Linked DNA regions of Homo sapiens: region 1 is linked to region 2. The links are contacts of gene promoters, found by promoter capture Hi-C in human tissues and cell types (Jung and others, 2019). All regions are on one chromosome and are shown on one strand. The core of a region is centred on a gene start or on the middle of the fragment in contact, and the rest is flanking DNA. Distances in the headings are between cores, read along the strand shown.

Region 1 (4,699 bases), core at 1,014-3,513, 860 kb after region 2:
ATTACAGGCGCCCACCATCACATCCGGCTAATTTTTGTATTTTTAGTGGAGATGGGGTTTCGCCATGTTGGCCAGGCTTGTCTTGAACTCCTGACCTCAAGTGATCCACCCACCTCGGCCTCCCAAAGTGCTGGGATTACAGGCGTGAGCCACCGCGCCCGGCCAAGCTTCTTTCTTTATATGGACTTTGAAACATTTACTGTGACTCTTGGGATTTCTAGTTGAAGTCACCTGCAAAGGGATTCCCCCTGTAAATGTCCATATTGCATATTGCTGTGAATATGACTGGAGGTTGTAACTTACCTGAATGTTTCCCTTTCCTGATTACATGCCAGGTAATACTGAAAGGGAAATGTCCAGAAAGGTTGTATTGGATGCTTTCAGAAGAATCACAACCTTTTCATGAATAAACCTCCTTTATTTATGAATGGACATTGTGCGGTCTGTGACAATGTTTATAAGTGCTGTAATCTGCTAAAATCAGTATCTGATTACAAATAAATGACCAAAGTATTTGTCTACAAGGGAAACTCCAGGACATTATGTACTTTCTAAGGATCCTGTTTCAGTTTCCAGGGGAAGATTTTGAACTATTTGGCATGTAACAGTTATTTTTCTCCTCTAACATCTTTTTTCCCCAGTCTCATAAGGAAGAGAGAAAAGTCAGAAAATAATATTTAAATTGTGTAACTAGCTTATTATTTTCATACTAAAAAGTAATCACTGATAGTTTTTCTATAGGTATGAGATCAAGGGAATCATTTTTAGAAATCATTTTCATTGTAAAAAGTATATTAGATGTCTTTTGCCAAATTTTATCTAGTTAGTAATTATAAACAGTATCAGTCTTATTTTCCTATTGTTTATGAACAATATAAAGACCTCTTAATAGTGATCTAAAAGTTTTCTATTGTCACTGGGTTACCTTCAGAATTTCTAGGCCTGTTAGATTTATTTTTGTCGTTAGCATTTAAAGTTTTGCTCTGTATTAGAAAATAGAAAACTTAGAAAAACAGGTAGTGGCAGTTCATCACTTCCCCCACTTTTATTTCCAAGTCATTATCTAGTTTCTCAATGTGGCATTGCAACTCTGATTTTTTACTGTTCGTGCACTAAAGCATTTGAGATAAGCCCTTAGTGTTGAGGAAATCCTAAATCCTACTGCTGGGGGGTTAAAAGAAATATAGTGACAGGCTATGAAATAGTGTTGTCATAACTTATCAGTGGCTAGTAAATAGGGTAGTTGCCTTCTGACACCATTTTGAGTGAAGGCAGTTTAATTGCGTTGCCTCTGTTTAGATAAGCATTTGGAATCCACAGTCAAATGTGTGAATGCTGTGGTTAAAGTATTTCCATTATATGAGATTTGATTTCTTAAGTGATTTTTTTGTCTCAGGTTCCATTCTACATCAAAAGGTATTTGGAAAATGTCTTTCACTGTATGTGTACATGGAGAACCATAACCTATAATTGTATGTAAATCTAGTGATTGTGAAAAACAAGAAACTTGCAGACACATATTAACAGTTGGTGACTTATCGCCAGTTGGTGACTTACTTACCTACCCCTGCCTCTCAAATCTTGTTATAACAATTAAACAGTTCGTATTAAGACTTTGTAATTTTTTAGTTGTGTTATTTTTACTTGAAGAAGACTCTTTCCCTATTGAATTAAGATTCCAGTTTCTGGGCATAACACATCCATGCTTTCAACCTCATATGCTTCTTGCAGCATAAACAATACACACTTAAACTCCTAAGCATTTACCAGGATACTTATAGAAGAAGGTTGCAGCTACTTGAGCTAATTTTTGCATGCTTTGTCAATTCACATTTTCTACTAGGTTGAAAATCCACTTTGGTTTGCAGTGGTGATGGGTTTTATCCTCTGATGATTCAACCTTTTTGATTTTTGAAAGAAAGGAGTTTTAACCTTAGCAGTCATGTAGCACTTTAAATTCAAAACAAGAATCTGACTCTGACTCTTGAAATGATACTGTGTGTTTTGTTTTTGTGGAATGGGAGGGCCAAATGGGTAGTTAGTTTCTTTTGCAATTGGAATAACTGTCATAAAATCAGGAAGTGCTGGAAGAGACCCCAGAAGTAATTGATTTCAAATCCTCATACTCAAAGAAAACCAAGACCCAAAGATAACCAAGTTCTGTTCAAGGTCATTCAGTTTGTTATTTTGTCTCATCCTAAGCGAGAGCATTTCCTCTCTATGGAGTATATCCTGTACCTGTGTTTTGTTTTGTTTTGTTTGTTTGTTTGAGACAGAGTCTCGCTCTGTCCACCAGGCTAGAGTGCAGTGGCAAGATCTCGGCTCACTGCAACCTCCGCCTCCCAGGTTCGAGTAATTCTGCCTCAGCCTCCCCAGTAGCTGGCACTACGGGCATGCACATCCATGCCTGGCTGACTTTTGTATTTTTAGTAGAGACAGGGTTTCACCACGTTGGCCAGGCTGGTCTCGAACTCCTGACCTCAGGTGATCCACCTGCCTCAGCCTCCCACAGTGCTGGGATTACAGGCGTGAGCCACCGCGCCCGGCTGTACCTGTGGTATTTTATAATCCTATTTGGTTTCTTGCTTTCCCCAAATAAAAACCGTTTTTGAACTCTGCCAGTGGCATTAAGGAAAGGATATAAAACTTGATAGTTATCAAAAGAACATTTCCCCCCATTATTTTAGTGATATAACTATGGAGGAAATTTTAAGCGTTTTGCTAATTTTAAACTTTTTTTTCTCATTTCATTAGCATTTGATAAGGCTATGAAATCCTGGTCCTTTATAACTAAAGATGTTTATTTTTCATTAAATAGGCAGATAATGCATAACCATATCTTGACTTTCTTAAGGAAAAATCTTGATCTCTGGGAGAAAAACATATTTCCACTTTTGATTTGCCCCTTCCATGCTTTTGTACACTTAGCACTTAATATGCACGAGGTTTATCGGCTCTTCACAATACCACAACCAAGGCAAACGGGGTACCATAAGGTTATGTAACCTGCCCAAGGTTTAGGACTAGTGAGAACGGTGAACCCCAGGCAGAGGGATGGGAAAGGTCCACAGAGCCCATTAACTTAATCTGTAGAGCTGGTTATTTTCCTCGGTATACCTTACACCACCTGCAGCCAGTGCAGAGAACTTCATTGTCCTATGCCTGTGTCCCTTTAAAGGCCCAGACTTTATGTAGAAATCTCAGTTCTACAGCACTTGACTCATTCCTCCTCTTCCTGTCTCCAATGCATACCCAGTCACATCACTCTTACTGTTTGAATTTTTCCAGTCCCTTCTTCCCATCCCAGAATAAACTCAGCTGTGTATTTAAAAATACGTATTTATGCCAGGCGCGGTGGCTCACGCCTGTAATCCCAGCACTTTGGGAGGCCGAGGCAGGCGGATCACGAGGTCAGGAGATCGAGACCATCCTGGCAAACACGGTGAAACCCCGTCTCTACTAAAAATACAAAAAAAAAAAAAAATTAGCCGGGCGCGGTGGCCGGCGCCTGTAGTCTCAGCTACTCGCGAGGCTGAGGCAGGAGAATGGCGTGAACCCGGGAGGCGGAGCTTGCAGTGAGCCGAGATCGTGCCACTGCACTCCAGCCTGGGCGACAGAGCGAGACTCCGTCTCAAAAAAAAAAAAAAAAAAAAAAAAAAAGTATTTATTCCCTAAGCATATTCATTATATGCATTTCTAGGTATTTTGTTGCAGGGACGCTTTCAGATTATCTGTCTTCAGAATTGCTAGATACAGAAGTTGACCACTCCCTTTTAATCTTTAAATCAAGGACAGGATTGAGGTCAATATCGCTGTGTGCTGTCTAATGAATTATTTGTACAGATTTAGAAAAGATAAATATTTATTGGTGTAGTCAGATGAGTGAAAGTTTAGTAAGCTTCTTCAGACATATTGACAGACTTAAGCCAGCTGATTTTCTGTCCTTTAGCAAATCTCACCTGCATTCTCTGGCATAATTAAGTGGGGTTGATAAACCATCTCTATTTTCTTTCCCCCGAAGCCTGACACCCAGTGGTCAGACTTTGAAACCAAAACCTCCCTGAGGGGGTTAACAAAAGTGAGGACTATTTGCTACCCTCCTGCTTCACACTTTTCATCTTCATTGTGGAATAGGTAGGTGAAATACTGAGCTGGATGGGGAGAGCCACATCTAAGCTATTCCCTTACAGGAGACTTGCCTTAAAGAAATGGGAATTTTGAGCCACTTCCTTGCTCAGTGTCCTTGTTGACTGCTGAAACTTTGTTCATTTCTTCATCTTTTAGAGAATGATGAAGTGATGTCTCAGCTCTCATCCAGGGGCAGACTCTAAAGTCAGTCCTTAAGGCAGAAATCATGATATAGTCCAAATTGAGTCTCCCTAAGAAGGTGGTGTGACAGGGAAGCATGCTTGATTACTTTGCAGGGGGAAAATGGCCTTTTTTCCCCTCCAACATTGAAAGATTACAGCTTTTGAGCTGAGAATCTTGGTTGGCCTTCATTCAGAGGCCACATACAAAAAAAGAAATATCTTTATCAAAAGCAGAATCCCACTCATAGATGACACACACATGGAGAGGTTGGAGAGGTGGATAAGGCTTGAGCACGTAGCAGATTCATACCTCGTATCTCATGCACTCCAGACACTTTCACTCACTAGTGGGCAGAGTTGCCTGAACTGTTTATATTGGGTTTTCTGTT
Region 2 (4,780 bases), core at 1,493-3,992:
TTTCAGCTGTGTCACTCACTAGCCATGGATCTTAGACATATCACTTAACCATTCTAAATCTCCATTTCCACATCAGTAAATTCCCACCTTGGAAGGTCAAAATGTTGCCCAAGAGCTCTATGACTGCCCCGTTGCAGCTTCTATACAACCATTGACAGTAAGGAAGAAAAGGCCTCACCACTGCACATGCTCCTCCAAGACCCCTCCCCATTTCCACACTCAGCTAAGCCACCATGACCCTGCCTTATCTCACAGCTCACAGCACCCTTCACTCCTGGTTACAACATCCCCTGGATTTGACCCTCTCTTTTCTGAAACCACTCCTGCCATACCTTACTTCTGAAACCCTTCCTCTGTGCTTTCTGCAGCTCATGGTCAGGTGTCATCATGAAATTAATATCTTCGTACTTTTCTCTGAAATGTGCCTCTCACCTGAGGACAATGCTTCCCTGCAGCCTTGCTAGGTGGTGGCCATTTTGTATCCCACAGCCCCTGTACTGCTGCTTTTGGGCTAGGAGATGAAGTAGGTGTCTTCCTTGATGCTTGATGCCATTTCTTCTCTTCTTGTAAATCTCCTAACTTTGAATCACATGCAATCAGACCATACCACTCGCTATCCGTCTTAATTGCAGTCCTCTACAGACCCCTAGGCCATTCCCCTCATTCCTTAAAGATCTGGATACCTGGCTTGCTCATGCCTTCTAACAACACACTCATCATCATTTTTGGTGATTTCAAGAGCTATGATGTCCTGGCTTTTCAGCTCTCAATTACCTCTCCTCCAGTGATCACATCTTCTACTGCACTCAGCCACTCCCAGGGTCACACCTCCGGCCTGGTCATTACCAACAACTGCAGGGCCACCAAAATCTCCATTTTAAACTTCCCACTTTCCATCCACCACCCCTCTTTCCAGGTCATCTCTACAACACTCAACTCCAATTCTTTGACCTCACCAGGATACAGTCTATTGATTCTACCACCTGTTCACTGTCCCTCTCCCCACACATGCCTTCACTTCCCTCCTTCATCAGGTTAGAACCCAAAGTTCAGAAACACAATCACTCCTCTTGCACGTAACTTCAACTCTCTTTCATCTTTGCCTTGCTTTGTCATACTTGCAAAACGACAATCCTGGTTAAACCCAACCATGCCTGCACCCACACAGCCAAACAGAACGGAGAGAGACACATACAACCTTATTCAACCAGTGTCTCTCAAATAATAACACCGATCTCATGTGGGTCTTAACACTGACTGGCAATCCTATTAGGTTTCCCAAGTCCACCTGCTTTGTTAGCTTTTTCATACCTCTTCTTTCTCCTCAAACTTCCAATATATTCTTCTCCATCTTCACCCATAAACAATGCCCTTGCTTCTTCCTTCACTGAGAAAATGGATGTAACAGTGCCCTCTATCACGCCTACCCATCTGATTGCACGGATGTGCCTCCCGTCTACCTTCCCTCCTACTTCTGTGACGGTACCACCTGCTGCTCTCTAGAGCCACAACAGAGTTTCAAAGCATCCCGGCAGCGGAGGGAGACTAGCTAGATTTCATGGAGGGCCCTGAAAAATTAGACATCAATACCCTGGCGACTGGATCATGGTAGATAACATGGTGCAGACTACAGTCTGCAGGGTGCTAAGATTTCCTTATCACCTAGTTTCCAAATTTGGCTCTATACAACTCTCACATGGCCAGATAACTCTCAAGCCAGAGGCGGAAAGATGCACAGGTGAAGGTTTCCTTACAAAATGGCTGGCAGGTAATAACTCTCAGCAGAAAGTTGGGTACAACTGGTTTATACTCGATGAAGTTTTATGTGAACAAGAAATGCTGATAACACCCATGCACGTTCTGTCTGGAATCCAATGCATGCCTTCCTTGTCCAATTTAGAGGTATTTTTAGTGGAGGGTGGTTATCCAACCCGTACTATAAAACGTGGACAAGAGAAGCCAGGTTCTTAAATATATCCTGTGTGGCAGCTACATGCAGGCACATTTGCAGCTGAAGTTTGACAATAACTCTTCCTACTGCTATTAAAACTGTAAGCAAACTTAGGGCAGGGTCCCTGCATCTACCATTATGTCTAGCTCATGAGCAGCACATAGTGGGCTTTTTTAAAAAGTTCATTTAACTAATAAACCAATGAGTGAAGAAGACTTGGGGAAGCAGGATTGCGTGACGGTGTTAAGCTGTGTGAAAACTGTTACTTTAGCCATAAAAGTACCGAAAATAGCACAGACATCACCTTTCGCATATATACTTAAAGTTTACTGCCGTCCTGGGAGGCAGGGAAGGGGTAGCAGGTGGCCAGCCATGTCTGCAGAAGGGGAAACTGAGGCTCCGGCCGCCTGTGGCCCGAATGAACAGGCTCGGGCTCGGTGTTCTTGGGCCCCCCGGGAGCAGACCCAGCACAGGCGGGCTCCCGCCGGCTCACTCACCTCGCCAGCTGTGTTGGCCAAAGCAATGAGATCCCGCTTGGGCGACCAGACCAGGAAAATAATCTCCTGCGGGAGCTGCTTCTCTCCCACCACCCGGAAGGATGGGAAACAGGTCGGAAAACGCAACATGGGGACGGCCCTGCAACGACACCCCAGTCAGAGGCCGGCAGGAGCCCCCGGCTCTCCACGAGGAGCCCCGACCGCGCCTGTACCTGCAAGAGTCCCCACCGGCAGACTAACACGGCCCCAGTGGCCTCTCCCCTCCCTCTGCCGGCCGCGCGCCACAGCCTCCAGGCCGCCCCGCCCCGCCGCTGTCGCGCGCTCCAGGCACTTCCGGCGTCGGGACTGCCTCGCGAGAGGAGGAGGAGGGGCGGGGCGCGCACCGGTCTTGGGGGTGCTGAGAGCCAGAAGGGGCGGACAGGGACGGGGCGCGGTGGGCGGGGCAGGGAGGAGCGAGGGGCGGATCGAGGTGGGGGTAGGATGGGGCCCGTGGGCGGGGCAGGGAGCAGCGATGGGGCAGAGCTAGGAAGGGTGGGGCACGCGGGCGGGGCAGGGAGCCCCGAGGGGCGCGGAGAGGGAGGGAGCCGCGCGCCGGACCCAGGTGCTGGTGGGATCGCTGGGCGCCGGGACCTGAAAGGGCCCGAGAAGGGCGGGGCAGGCCCCTGCGGCCACACGCAGGTCTTTTGGGAACCCGTGTGTGCACGTGTGTGGGCATGCTTGCATACCTTTCCCGTTTTCCCGGAAATTCTCTGCTGTGGGCAAAGGGACGGTAGGGGTTTATGGGGTAGGCTTCAGCGACAACGGGGAGATGAAAAAGAATATGAACTTTAGGTCCTGATCAGCTGGCGCCTCCTCTAACAGTTACTAAGCGAGTAGTTCTCATGTCAGTCCTGGTGGGTCAGTATAGAATTTTAAAAGTCCCCCTGTCCAAGCAGCACCCCAAACCAATTAGAAGAAAATTAACCCTGGATGGGCCCAGTATTTACTAAAACTCTTTGGGTGATTCCAATTTGGAGAGAAGAGGCGCGTGCCCTAAAACCTCCCTAACAGGCAAATAATACTGTGACATCTCATCCCATTTAACCCTCACAACTTATTGGTAGTTGCAGCACCGTCATAACGAATAAAGAGTGTGGGCTCAGGGCCGGGCGCGGTGGCTCACGCCTGTAATCCCAGCACTTTGGGAGGCCGTGGCGGACGGATCACAAGGACAGGAGATAGAGCCCATCCTGGCTAACATGGTGAAACCCCGTCTCTACTAAAAAATACAAAAAAGTAGCCAGGCATGGTGGCGGGCACCTGTAGTCCCATCTACTGGGGAGGCTGAGGCAGGAGAATGGCGTGAACCCGGGAGGCGGAGCTTGCAGTGAGGCGGAGCTTGCAGTGAGGCGGGGCTTGCAGTGAGGCGGAGCTTGCAGTGAGCCGAGATTGTGCCACTGCACTCCAGCCTGGGCAACAGAGCCAGACTCCGTCTCTAAAATATAAAAAAAGAGTGTGGGCTCACACACGATTTCTTCTATAGGTACTTGGGCATTTACTATGTGGAGGAACTGAGGCTACAGCAATGCATGGGACGGGAACTCTGCCCAGAGGCTCACAGGCCAGCCTGGCAGACTTGTAAATCAGAACTCATCTGATGTTGCTTTATGTAGGACACATTTAAATGAGTCAACCTGTTGACAGTTCCCACAGCTATGACCTCCCTAAGAGAATGTGACAGTACCATCCTAGGGTTCTTAAACTTAAAACCTATGGTAGAAAGCCATCTACTTTTTACTACCTTTCACTTGTTCAAAGAAGAAACAGACGGCAGGTCCTTTAACTTTCAACAGGCCCCATCTTCTTGACCTCTGTCTGGATCTAGCCCCTGGGAAGTAGATGACGGAGGGAGACTAATTCATTCAGCATCAAGTAACTATTTTGTGCCAAGTACTGTTCTTAATCCTTGACTTTATACCTACCCTGCTTCCTGTCACGGGCTTTGCAGCCCTTGCCTTTGCCACAAACAACTTACCAAGTGCCCCCAACTCTTCCAGAATCAACATTTCTAAGGTAAAAATGCATTTGCCTTTGTTTTTCACAAAATGCATTTTCAGGTGTTAGTGTTTTGGGGCAGTTATAATGGATCACCTGGTGGGGGTCTAGTATCTATGCACATTAACCTTCTTACGGAAATTGAATGTCCATTTTCCTGGAACTTACCTGAATACAAACACCCATACAGCACGTGAAAATCACTGTTCCCAGAGGCATAAACACCGTACTGCAAAGGACAGAGTATAACCACCTGCACATTAAGTCTTCACAGAATATAAATTTTCTAAGCCTTACA

Evidence for each region. The method cuts DNA at HindIII sites, captures the fragments that hold promoters and counts their contacts. A contact is called where the count stands out against the background at its distance.
Region 1: a fragment that was not itself captured here is called in contact with the fragment with the promoter of ANAPC4 in region 2 in 1 of the 25 tissues and cell types used here (lymphoblastoid cells).

Annotation. Positions count from the first base shown.
Region 1 is chr4:24,514,350-24,519,048 of GRCh38, reverse strand. No RefSeq gene overlaps it. Among named protein-coding and RNA genes, the nearest start is that of MIR573, 3.6 kb to the left of the region's middle. The HindIII fragment of the contact is 5,083 bases long and covers 1-4,699 here.
Region 2 is chr4:25,375,225-25,380,004 of GRCh38, reverse strand. ANAPC4 (anaphase promoting complex subunit 4) reads right to left here and starts at 2,742. Exons shown (of 29, transcript NM_013367.3): 1 at 2,661-2,742; 2 at 2,449-2,587. The coding sequence starts at 2,577. RefSeq lists enhancers at 2,340-2,409, 2,440-2,499 and a silencer at 2,620-3,039. The HindIII fragment of the contact is 8,136 bases long and covers 1-4,780 here.